Regions from separate parts of the Homo sapiens genome. Here region 1 is linked to region 2. The links are contacts of gene promoters, found by promoter capture Hi-C in blood cells and fetal thymus (Javierre and others, 2016). All regions are on one chromosome and are shown on one strand. Each heading gives the region's core, a stretch centred on a gene start or on the middle of the fragment in contact. The rest is flanking DNA. Distances are from core to core; before and after follow the strand shown. Region 1 overlaps CEP128 (centrosomal protein 128). Region 2 holds the start of NRXN3-AS1 (NRXN3 antisense RNA 1).

The links. Contacts are between HindIII fragments. The CHiCAGO score rates a contact against its expected background, and 5 or more counts as called.
Region 1: a contact is called between a fragment that was not itself captured here and the fragment with the promoter of NRXN3-AS1 in region 2, in 4 of 17 cell types (M0 macrophages, M1 macrophages, M2 macrophages and 1 more). The highest score is 10.9, in M0 macrophages.

The regions. Positions count from the first base shown.
Region 1 is chr14:80,847,064-80,851,729 of GRCh38, reverse strand. The region is part of intron 9 of CEP128 (centrosomal protein 128); the gene reads left to right. Among named protein-coding and RNA genes, the nearest start is that of CEP128, 92 kb to the left of the region's middle. The HindIII fragment of the contact is 4,892 bases long and covers 1-4,616 here.
Region 2 is chr14:79,073,873-79,078,647 of GRCh38, reverse strand. NRXN3-AS1 (NRXN3 antisense RNA 1) reads left to right here and starts at 3,123. Exons shown (of 3, transcript XR_007064282.1): 1 at 3,123-3,188; 2 at 3,830-4,100. All of the region lies in intron 15 of NRXN3 (neurexin 3), which reads right to left. It overlaps LOC105370588 (a long non-coding RNA gene), which reads left to right. Exons shown (of 4, transcript XR_007064284.1): 4 at 1,373-1,449. The HindIII fragment of the contact is 3,991 bases long and covers 633-4,623 here.

The DNA of each region.
Region 1 (4,666 bases), core at 921-3,420, 1.8 Mb before region 2:
TAATGGTTGCATTAGTCATTTTATACTTACTGCGATTATTGGAATATTTTAAAGTGTTTTTATCTTATTTATTTTTTTTTAACTTCTCTTTTTGTTTCTTTTTCCCATTTCTATTTGGAGTGGAGTATATTATATATTCATTTTTATACTTTCTGTTTGCTTTGGAGCTGTAGATTATATTTCTGTTCTTTTGATAGCTGTTCTAAGATTTTAAACATACAGTACTTATTAGTCTAAGATATCTATGTTCCAGCTACATTGGATTCTTCTCAGTGTCTTACTGGAACATTTTTCTCCCTTCTCGTTCCTCAGGCTCAATTGTGACCTCTTTAGGGAAAACTTTCCCGTTCCTCCTCGCCTTCTAAAATCGCCCCTTCAGTTCCATTGCTCACTGTCATGTATCATATTACTCTATTTTTAAAAATAGCATTTAACACAAACTATAATTATTGTTTGTTTGCTTATGCTATTATATGCCTTTTGCCAAAGAATGTAGACTCCATTGGAGGGGCTTTGTGCATCTCGTTTACCCTTGTTTCTGGGACAGGTAGTACAGGGTTTATCACACAGAGCTCACTGAACAGGTGCTAAAGAAATTGACGTTTCCAAATGTAAGTGATTGTTCAGCTGCATATAACATTCTTGGTAAATTTCACTCCAAGATTTTTATACCTTGTGTTACTCTACTGCTCTCATTCCTGAAGACAGAAAGTAAAAGTTAAACAATTTTAACTTATTTGAAGTTTATATAGTAGTTACAATGATATATTCAAAATTCCATAAACATTCTTCAAGAATTCAATCATAGTTAAATTAAACATAATTCAACTCTATAAAAATAACATTTTCGTATAGTGGGTTGCTGGTTTTCAAACTATACTGACAACTTAATAAAGACAGCTGGATTTTTGATATCTTTGTGTTTAACAAAGTTTGAAAAAGAAATTTAGAATGGAGATGCCCAGATACATGCATTCTAAATGTAGACCTCTTTGAAATATTAATTATGGATTTATGAAGAATGTTAACATAGCTGTGTGAGCGTGAATAAAGTGACATTTCATGGAACTGTTTCCTTTGTGAGCTGACAGCAAATGCTGATTGACTTTTCTTTTGGGATACTGCAAATAATGGACAGAAAGAATTTTTAAAGAGACTTTGTAGATACAATTCCTTTTCTTCGTGTTTTTCTGAATGTTTGTGAGGGCAATATCTTTTAATTTAGATTTTCACATAATTTGCATTAAATGTTTTAAATAAATTGATAAAGGTCATAGAATACTTGATAGGGAATTACTACAAGTTTTGACCACTAGTCGTCAGTATTGAACCATTAATTGTGAAGTAGTAGACACTGTTTATTAAAGTTGGCCAAATTTATTGAAAAACAATTATTTATAGTGTGTATACTCTCAACTCTTAGGGCTTTCTGAAAGTGTACTTGGCACTAGCCTCACAAATGAAAAAAATCTAATTAACTGTCTGTTATTACAAATTTAAATTTGAAACGGTGTTACCCTCTGCTGTTAAAAAGTATGACACATTGTGTATTTTATATGAAGACACCTGCTGTATTTATCATGAAAACTGTCATTTCTTTGCCTTTGTATTATAGTTTCATGCTTCCTCTTCAGGATTACAGGTTTTTCCCTTCTTCCTTCCTCCTTCCCTCCCTCCCTCTATGGAAGAAACTATTTATATCTAGTAAAACAGATTATAATTTGATATGAGCATTTTTTTCGCGGGAATCATATATTCCCATTCCCTTTTCCACTTTTAATATTTCGAAGCTGTGCATGCAGAATTTTCCCAAAGATACTTTCTATAAATATTCATCTTATGTAGACCTAAACCTCTTTCTCCTAATTGTTATTTTCTTGTTTTTGGTGGTGATTTCCTTTTGTACACTGTTGTCCATCTACCCAGTTATATTTATTTTCTATTGGTGTTCTGTTGGATAGTTTATCCAACAGATAGATTATCCTTTGCCTATTTTTTCTTTAGTTGTTGGAAAAGCATTTTTTATAGCTCTCATGACTCATTGTGTTTCTAGTTAATTTGTATTTCTATTAAGTACCCCAAATCCCTTTTTAAAAAATATTAAAGTTGTGGTATTAATTATTCATTGCTCAAAAAATGAAAAGCTGTTATTTCTTATATATCTTTGTCCATACTGTGGTCAAGTATTAGGATAGTATTTAGAACTATAACCTCATTATTTCATCGTTTAATGGATTTTGTATGGTTGTGACAAAAAAGTTACAGTTTTATGTTTATTATCTGAGAATGAGATCCTGAAACTTTCCTCGCCAGTGTTAGTCTTGGATGGGCAATCAAGTTACAGTGATGCTGTGATTCAAAGCCACAAAGTGTGGGCGAACTTGGGTCTCTGGAGCTCCCAGTTTCCAGTTCTTTCTCCTCCTGACCTGTGAACTTGTTTGGAAGGTGCAAAATCTTACTCTTTTTGTGTGGTTCATCTTATAATGTTTCTTCTTAAACAGATAGATAACCATCTTGATAAAATAATTTGTTTTATATTTTAAAACCTTTATATGTTTCCTTTATGTCTTTGCCTCTCCTTTTCTCCTGTTCTTTACACCAAGTCTATCATTAAATTTTGTCAGCTCTATTTAAAAAATATTTTTTTAAATTGGAAACTGTTCATTTCCTACCACTACATCTCCTCTTTTGCTGGGGCTAATGCTGTAGCCTCCTTGCTTCCATTCTTACCTCCTTGTGGTCTTTTACAGAATCAGATAATGTCACATCTTTCTTCAAGACCCTTCAATGGTTTCTTTTGTTTTTTTTTTGAGACAGTCTCACTCTGTTGCCCAGGCTAGAGTGCAGTGGCATGATGTTGGTTCACTGCAGCCACCACCTCCTGGGTTCAAGTGATTCTTATGCCTCAGCCTCCCGAGTATCTGGGATTACAGGCATGTCCCACCATGTCTGGCTAATCAATGGTTTATTTATAGACAATAGATCCCCTCTGATCTGGTTTCTGAATTCCTCTCACCCTAATTTTCTTTCTTTCTTTCCTTTCTTCTCTTTTTCTTTTTTTTTTTGTTTTGAAATGTAGTCTTACTCTGTCTCCCAGGCTGGAGTGCAGTGGCACGATCTTGGCTCACTGCAGCCTCTGACTCCCAGGTTCAAGCGATTCTCTGCCTCAGCCTCCTGAATAGTTGGAATTACAAGCATGCGCCAAGACACCCAGCTAATTTTTTGTAATTTAAGTAGAGATGGAGTTTCGTCATGTTGACCAGGCTGGTCTCAAACTCCTGGCCTCAAGTGATCCTCCCACCTTGGCCTCCCAAAGTGCTGGGATTAAAGGCACGAGCCACCATGCCCAACCCCTAATTTTCTATTGTTGTTCTTCTTGCCAACTCTAGGCCAACCATCCTGGCCGTCTTGCTTTTCCATGGATATACCATGTACCTCCTGCTCCTGGGCATTTGCACTTTCTGTTCCCACAGCTAGGAATTTTCAGCTCTGAAACAGTTGTACGGTTTGTGCGCTCATGTTCAGAACTCTACTTCAGAAAGCCCTTATTGACTATCATAGATAAAACACTCCTTCACTCCTGAGCCCCTTGCACTGTTGTATGTTTTCTTAACACTTTCATTATTTGTCAACCATCTGTCCCCTTGAGCAGAATGCAGGCTTTATGGAGGCAGGGACTTACCTGCTTTGCTTGTTGCTGCATCCCCAGTACCAGGACCAGTGCTTGGCATAGAGTAGGGGCCCAGTAAGTGTTTCTTGAAGGAATGAATGAATAAATATTGCTTACTGTATAGTAACTATTCATTCAGTAAAATATTCATTTGGCCAATACTATCATGTACCTAATATAATTCAGGTACTGCGCTGGGGACTAGGGATTTAAAGATACCTAAAATACTATCTCACCTTTTAGGGACCCCTAGTTTAGTTGAGGAAATAGAGATGTTAACTATCTTTGCAATGCAGTAAGGGCATTATTCCACATTTGTGTAGTCTACAGAATATCTCAGAGGGGAAATAATTACCTCTTTATGGCCCCTTGGGGAAAGTTTGGGTGAGAGAGGTGGCATTTTTGCTAAGACTGTATTTTCACATTATTTTAGGAAATTCTTCATGAATGTGATTCTGCCCCACTGCTTGTTGTTAACATGTCAAGCACTTTACCAATCAATGGCTGAAACACTTATATAAATTTTGACCTACTATCATTTTTATCCATACCATTGCTCTTTGTCCTATCATCATACACCATACTAATTATTTTCTTCTTTATATTTGTTACTTGTGGTAACAAATAACAAATTTTTTCTTTGCAAAGATGAAATAAACATTGTTCTCTATAAGACTGTGAGAGAACCATTAATGTCGACATGCTGATAAAAAGAAAATGGATGGTGAAGAATGATTGACTATTATAGGATTTAGTTTTCAAAGGCGTTTGAACACTATTTGGCACAGCTTGAAACATGCAGGTCTGAGATACATCATGCTTTTCAGTCACCTTCTTTAGTCTTTTTCTTGATTTCCCTCCTTGCCCTCTTATTCAGCCTCTTACAGATGACACTAAAACACTTTTGATGTTTTTTTCAGTGAAAGATATTTTTTCCCCCAAAGCTTCTATAGAAGAGAATTCTGAAGAGACCTTGGAGGATGTCTCTTTCAACCT
Region 2 (4,775 bases), core at 1,874-4,373:
ACATTAACAATCAGAGCCAAGTTGTTACTATAGTCAATAAATTGAATAACTTATTTTACCACCTCTTATTCTTCTACCTTTTTAAAAAGTGTATATATCAAAACAAGCTTCATCTTACTTAGTGTCCTCATGCATGGATAGAGTTAAAATGGTTTAGGCATCATTTTGCATTAGAGTTCTGGAATGTATGCAGAGCAAGGTTGGATGGATTTTTACCATGTAAGTCAGCCACTAGGCAGTATTTGTAGTGGAAATGGGCCTCTAACACTCATTTCCAATAGGACAGTAGAAAACATGGTATCTACCACCACAGATCTGCTGTCAAAAGTTTAACCTCCTATGGGTTAACATGCGAGTGATTTATTTTATCTTGTGAGCTACTTTGACACCAAAGTATCTTGAATGGTCATAAGTTTGACAAAAAGACCTTTATGGCTGGTTGAAATTAATGACCTCTAAAGTTTGATTTTACCCTGAGATCCTGTGATTCTAAGAGCAGCAGTAGAAATCCTAGGCATCTTTCAAGTGTCATTCTGAACAACAAAAAAAATAACATCAGAAGGGAAAATCTTTTAGACTCATTATCTTGCCATTTCAACCAATATAAATACCAGCTTTATTTTTTGAAAGCTTTATTGGAATTTCTACATAAGGCTACATACATTTCTAAATAGCTCCCTCAAACTAGAAACTTGTCTATAAAACAACTGAAATCAAATGGAAAGCCCCTTTTCTCAGCCTTATATAAGTAAACCTTACTTATATATACCTGATCAATAGGGCTATACTCTCCCTGACAGATGTTTTCATTTTTTCTGCCTGAATATAATGTAAATGGAGCAAATTCTACCCTAAGGTGCAATATTATACCACAGACTGATATAATAATAATTTATGGCCTATATATTATAGTTATATAAAATGTCTCATACCACATCACCAATTATAAGGGGCTGATCTGCAATACAACTGATAGGTTTAGTCCTATAGGACATTTCATTCCAGTTATAGTTTAATTTTCAACCTTACTCATTTGTGATCTCTCTTTATAATTGCCAAAAAGTTCAGGGATCATATGAAGCACTGTTTTTCAAATGGCCCATGTGGAAGCAGAAGCCTAGTACATATCTTTGATAAAAGAATTAACAAGGATAGTAATTTATTATATTCTGTAGGGAGAGAAATTAATAATTTAACTACAGAAGAATTCAGATGAATAGGAAAAGAAGAGGAAAAAAAGGAAAACTAGAAAAAAATTGCTTTCCAGGTTCACAGAAGGCAAACATCGTGTGGACACTTCCCCAGTGCCTCGGGCTATGTGGTTAAGACTAAACACACCGTGTGCTCTATCTTCTATTTGTTGAACCTCCAGGTGGAACCAGATTAGCAGAAAGAACGTTTCCTCGGTCATGAGGGAATTTAATTCTTATCACCTGCTGTGGAAGATTGGCAACAGCATTCCTGACCTAAAGAATAAACTTCTAATTGTTCTTAAGAAGGTAATTCCACCAAGGTAATTCTAGGTCTGCTTCAGCTATTCCTTATTTTTGAGTGATTTTATTTCAGACTTAAATCCATTCCCTTGACGATAACTGGAGAAATGAAGCATAGGAAGAAAATTGTCCAGAAAGGATAACACCAAACATTAATCTCTTTTGGAACAGAGAGACTCTTTGTTTTTAGTAAACTAGACACAGTTTCATGGGCATGTAGGTACTTGAGTGCCCACAATGCACCAGGCAATGTGCTGGGGGTGGCAAGAAATAAATGCAATGCTTCTCTACTCTGTGGCAAGCCCTGTGATAGAACTTTTTACACGCCATCTCAGCAGACCCTGCATTTGTCTAATGTCTATTTCATGCTTTTTACACCTGTGTAAGGCAGTCTATAAGGTGGCTCCCAACTGTCTCAGCCTCCTGGTATTCATACCCTTGATTATTCCCTCCCCTTAAATGTCCTATACTTATTGACTCACTTCTAAGTGATGAATAGAATACAGTAGAGGTGACAGGATGTCACTTTCAAGATTAGATTGAAAACAACAATGGCTTCCACCTTCTCCCCAACCCTCAATCAAAGACAGCTATTAAGTTGTAAGCTGTCCTGTAGAAAGGCTCTTGTGCCAATGAAGTATTATCTGTGGCCAACAGTCCACAATGACTAAGGCCTGCCACCAGCCATAGGTAAGGGCTTGGAAGCAGATCTCTCCCAAGTTGAGGTGACTGAAGCCCTGGCTGTCACCTCGGTTGCAGCCTTATGGAGGGACTCTAAGCCAGAGGCACCCAGCTAAGCCACATCTGGATTCCTGACCTGCAAAAATTAGGAGGTAATGCCTTGTTGATTTTTGAGCTGCTACGTTTTGGAGTTATTTGTTATGCAGCAATAGAGAACTAATATAACACCATTTCCTCCTCTCTAGTCACCATTATTTAGAAACAACTCCATGAATGAACAATGAGAATCAAGAGCTGGGAATCAATAGTTGAGGTGACAGATTAGGCAACAGCATGATGGCCAGCACGTGTCTCACCCAGAAGCTGTCCTCTTCCTTCTTATAAGACAAGGCTCTAACTCATGAGGATGGTTTTTACCACAAAGTTGCACGAGGTGCTTGAATTTACCACAAAGTTGCAGGAGGTGCTTGACTAGTACAGGAGCACAGCTAAAAAAGGCTCTGCAGACCAAGTCTTCCATATTGATCACATCTTAGCTAACACTGCTATGGCTTAATTGGGCAAACGGCCAATGGCATCTGATCTGCCATTTTCCATTTCTCTCAAAAACTAGTTAAGGTATGGGAAGGACATCTACCTCATTTTCCTCTCCTGCCTCCCCGCCTGCCACACACATTGAGGGCCAAGAATGGCTCTTTGTAAAGCTACTTGAAATAAATGCTACAGGCCTCGTCCTGCTTGGAAGTAAATCTGGATGGAATGTAATCAAACAGCATGCATTTGGCATCAACTTATGTTTGAGCATTGCAGGTATAAAAATGAAAAATATGTTTTGGCAGAGAGTTGGACAGAAAGGAAGACTTAATTAAATATCTGAAATATACACCACTGGAACCAATTAATAATCATCAAGGGATCAGAAAAGGAAGGACAGTAATAAAAAGAGTTTATAAAGTCGAAATTTCAGGTGAGAGGGAAAAAATCCTATCCACATTCTTCTGAATCTCTGAATTGGTAAGCAACACTTTATTTTTCATTTTCCTAACTAATATTTATGCATTGTCAATGTCCTACTGCCTTCAATAAGTTTACAATCTAACTGGGAGACCAAAATCTCTAAAATGCAATAATGTGTGCATCAAAACTCAAGTTCTTATCAGGGACTGATTACTTTGGAGTCCTCAGCTCCATCTCCTAACCCATGTATACACTTTCATAGTTCCTCTTCAGAAAGGAACTATTTTTATTCTGTAAAAATCTAGTGGTCAAATGAAATGGGTATGCTTTATAGGTAAGGATCCTGAAGCAAAAATCAAATGCATAAAGATTACACGGCAAATGAAGTAAGAGATTTTTAAGCTCTGACACCATTTGATTTTTAGTTTTTTCTATCACAAAATAGTGCTAATAGCTTATAAAATTAAAATAAGTAAAAGTAGCTTTGTTAAAGCAGAAAGAAACTTACACTTCCCTACAACAATTTGCAAACTTAAGTCAAATGATCAATGATCAAATAGCAGAGGCTGGAGTGTGCCCAAGGGGGACTTGATCTTATTCTGGGTGTTTTAGCCCAAGCAGAAATCAATGCAGGGTTTTCTGCCACCTGCTTATTTTGTTTCCAGTCAAGCAAAACAAGGGGCTTATCTCCCTCACAGATCAGCATATGAGATATGCTTCAGATATGTTTGCCTGTCAGACTCATAAACACAACAAGATATGCCAGCTGCAATGAAGAGAAGCCCTGTTTCAGTTCGTGGATTACAGACTGCAACATCCATCAGCATCAAGACAAACACCTTCAAACTACTGTCCTTGGCGTCCAGCCTAACAGATCTGAGGAATGTGATAAAGGAACACTGGATTCCCAAGGTCTGCTCAGGTTTCCTTCCATAACAAGAAGTAGCCAAATACAGCTGAACAGGCCTGGTAAGTAAAGGAGAAGCCTCCTTCCTTGAAACACTTTGCTGTATTCTCAAGAACAAACACAGACCCCTAGTATCTAGGTCTTAGTACTCATGATGACTACCGACCTCTGGACCAGTTATATCTGTCAAGCCTTAACTATTTTACTAGCATATTTCCCCTAGAACTGATTTAGTAATTTGAGAAATAAAAATGTTATAATACCTTTCATATAGAGAAATAATTTTTTCAACTCATTGGAAGTACATTATCATTTTGATCATTAAAATTACCCTTTGAAATACATTGGGCAAATATTTTTATTTTAAAGATGAGAAGGAAGCTCCAAAGACACTAAAATTTGATGTGCAAGACTGCAGAGCTAGTTTGTAGAAATGTGGAATGGACCCATATGTTTTTTGTACCACTCCAATTTAAGAATACATTTAGTCATGTATAAGTCATGACTAATAATATTCATTGTGTACCTACGATGTGGAAGGTAATGTGTTAGATAATGTGAACAATGCAGGTAAACTACTAAGCTTCATTTTATTTAACAAAAATGTATATTGTGCCTACCATATGGCAGGTACTTTTCTACGTGTGTTACAGAGATTTAATCCTTATAAAATACCCTCCTATGTAGTGGTTACTAGGCACAGAGAGGTTAAATAACGTGTCCAAGGTCACTCAGCC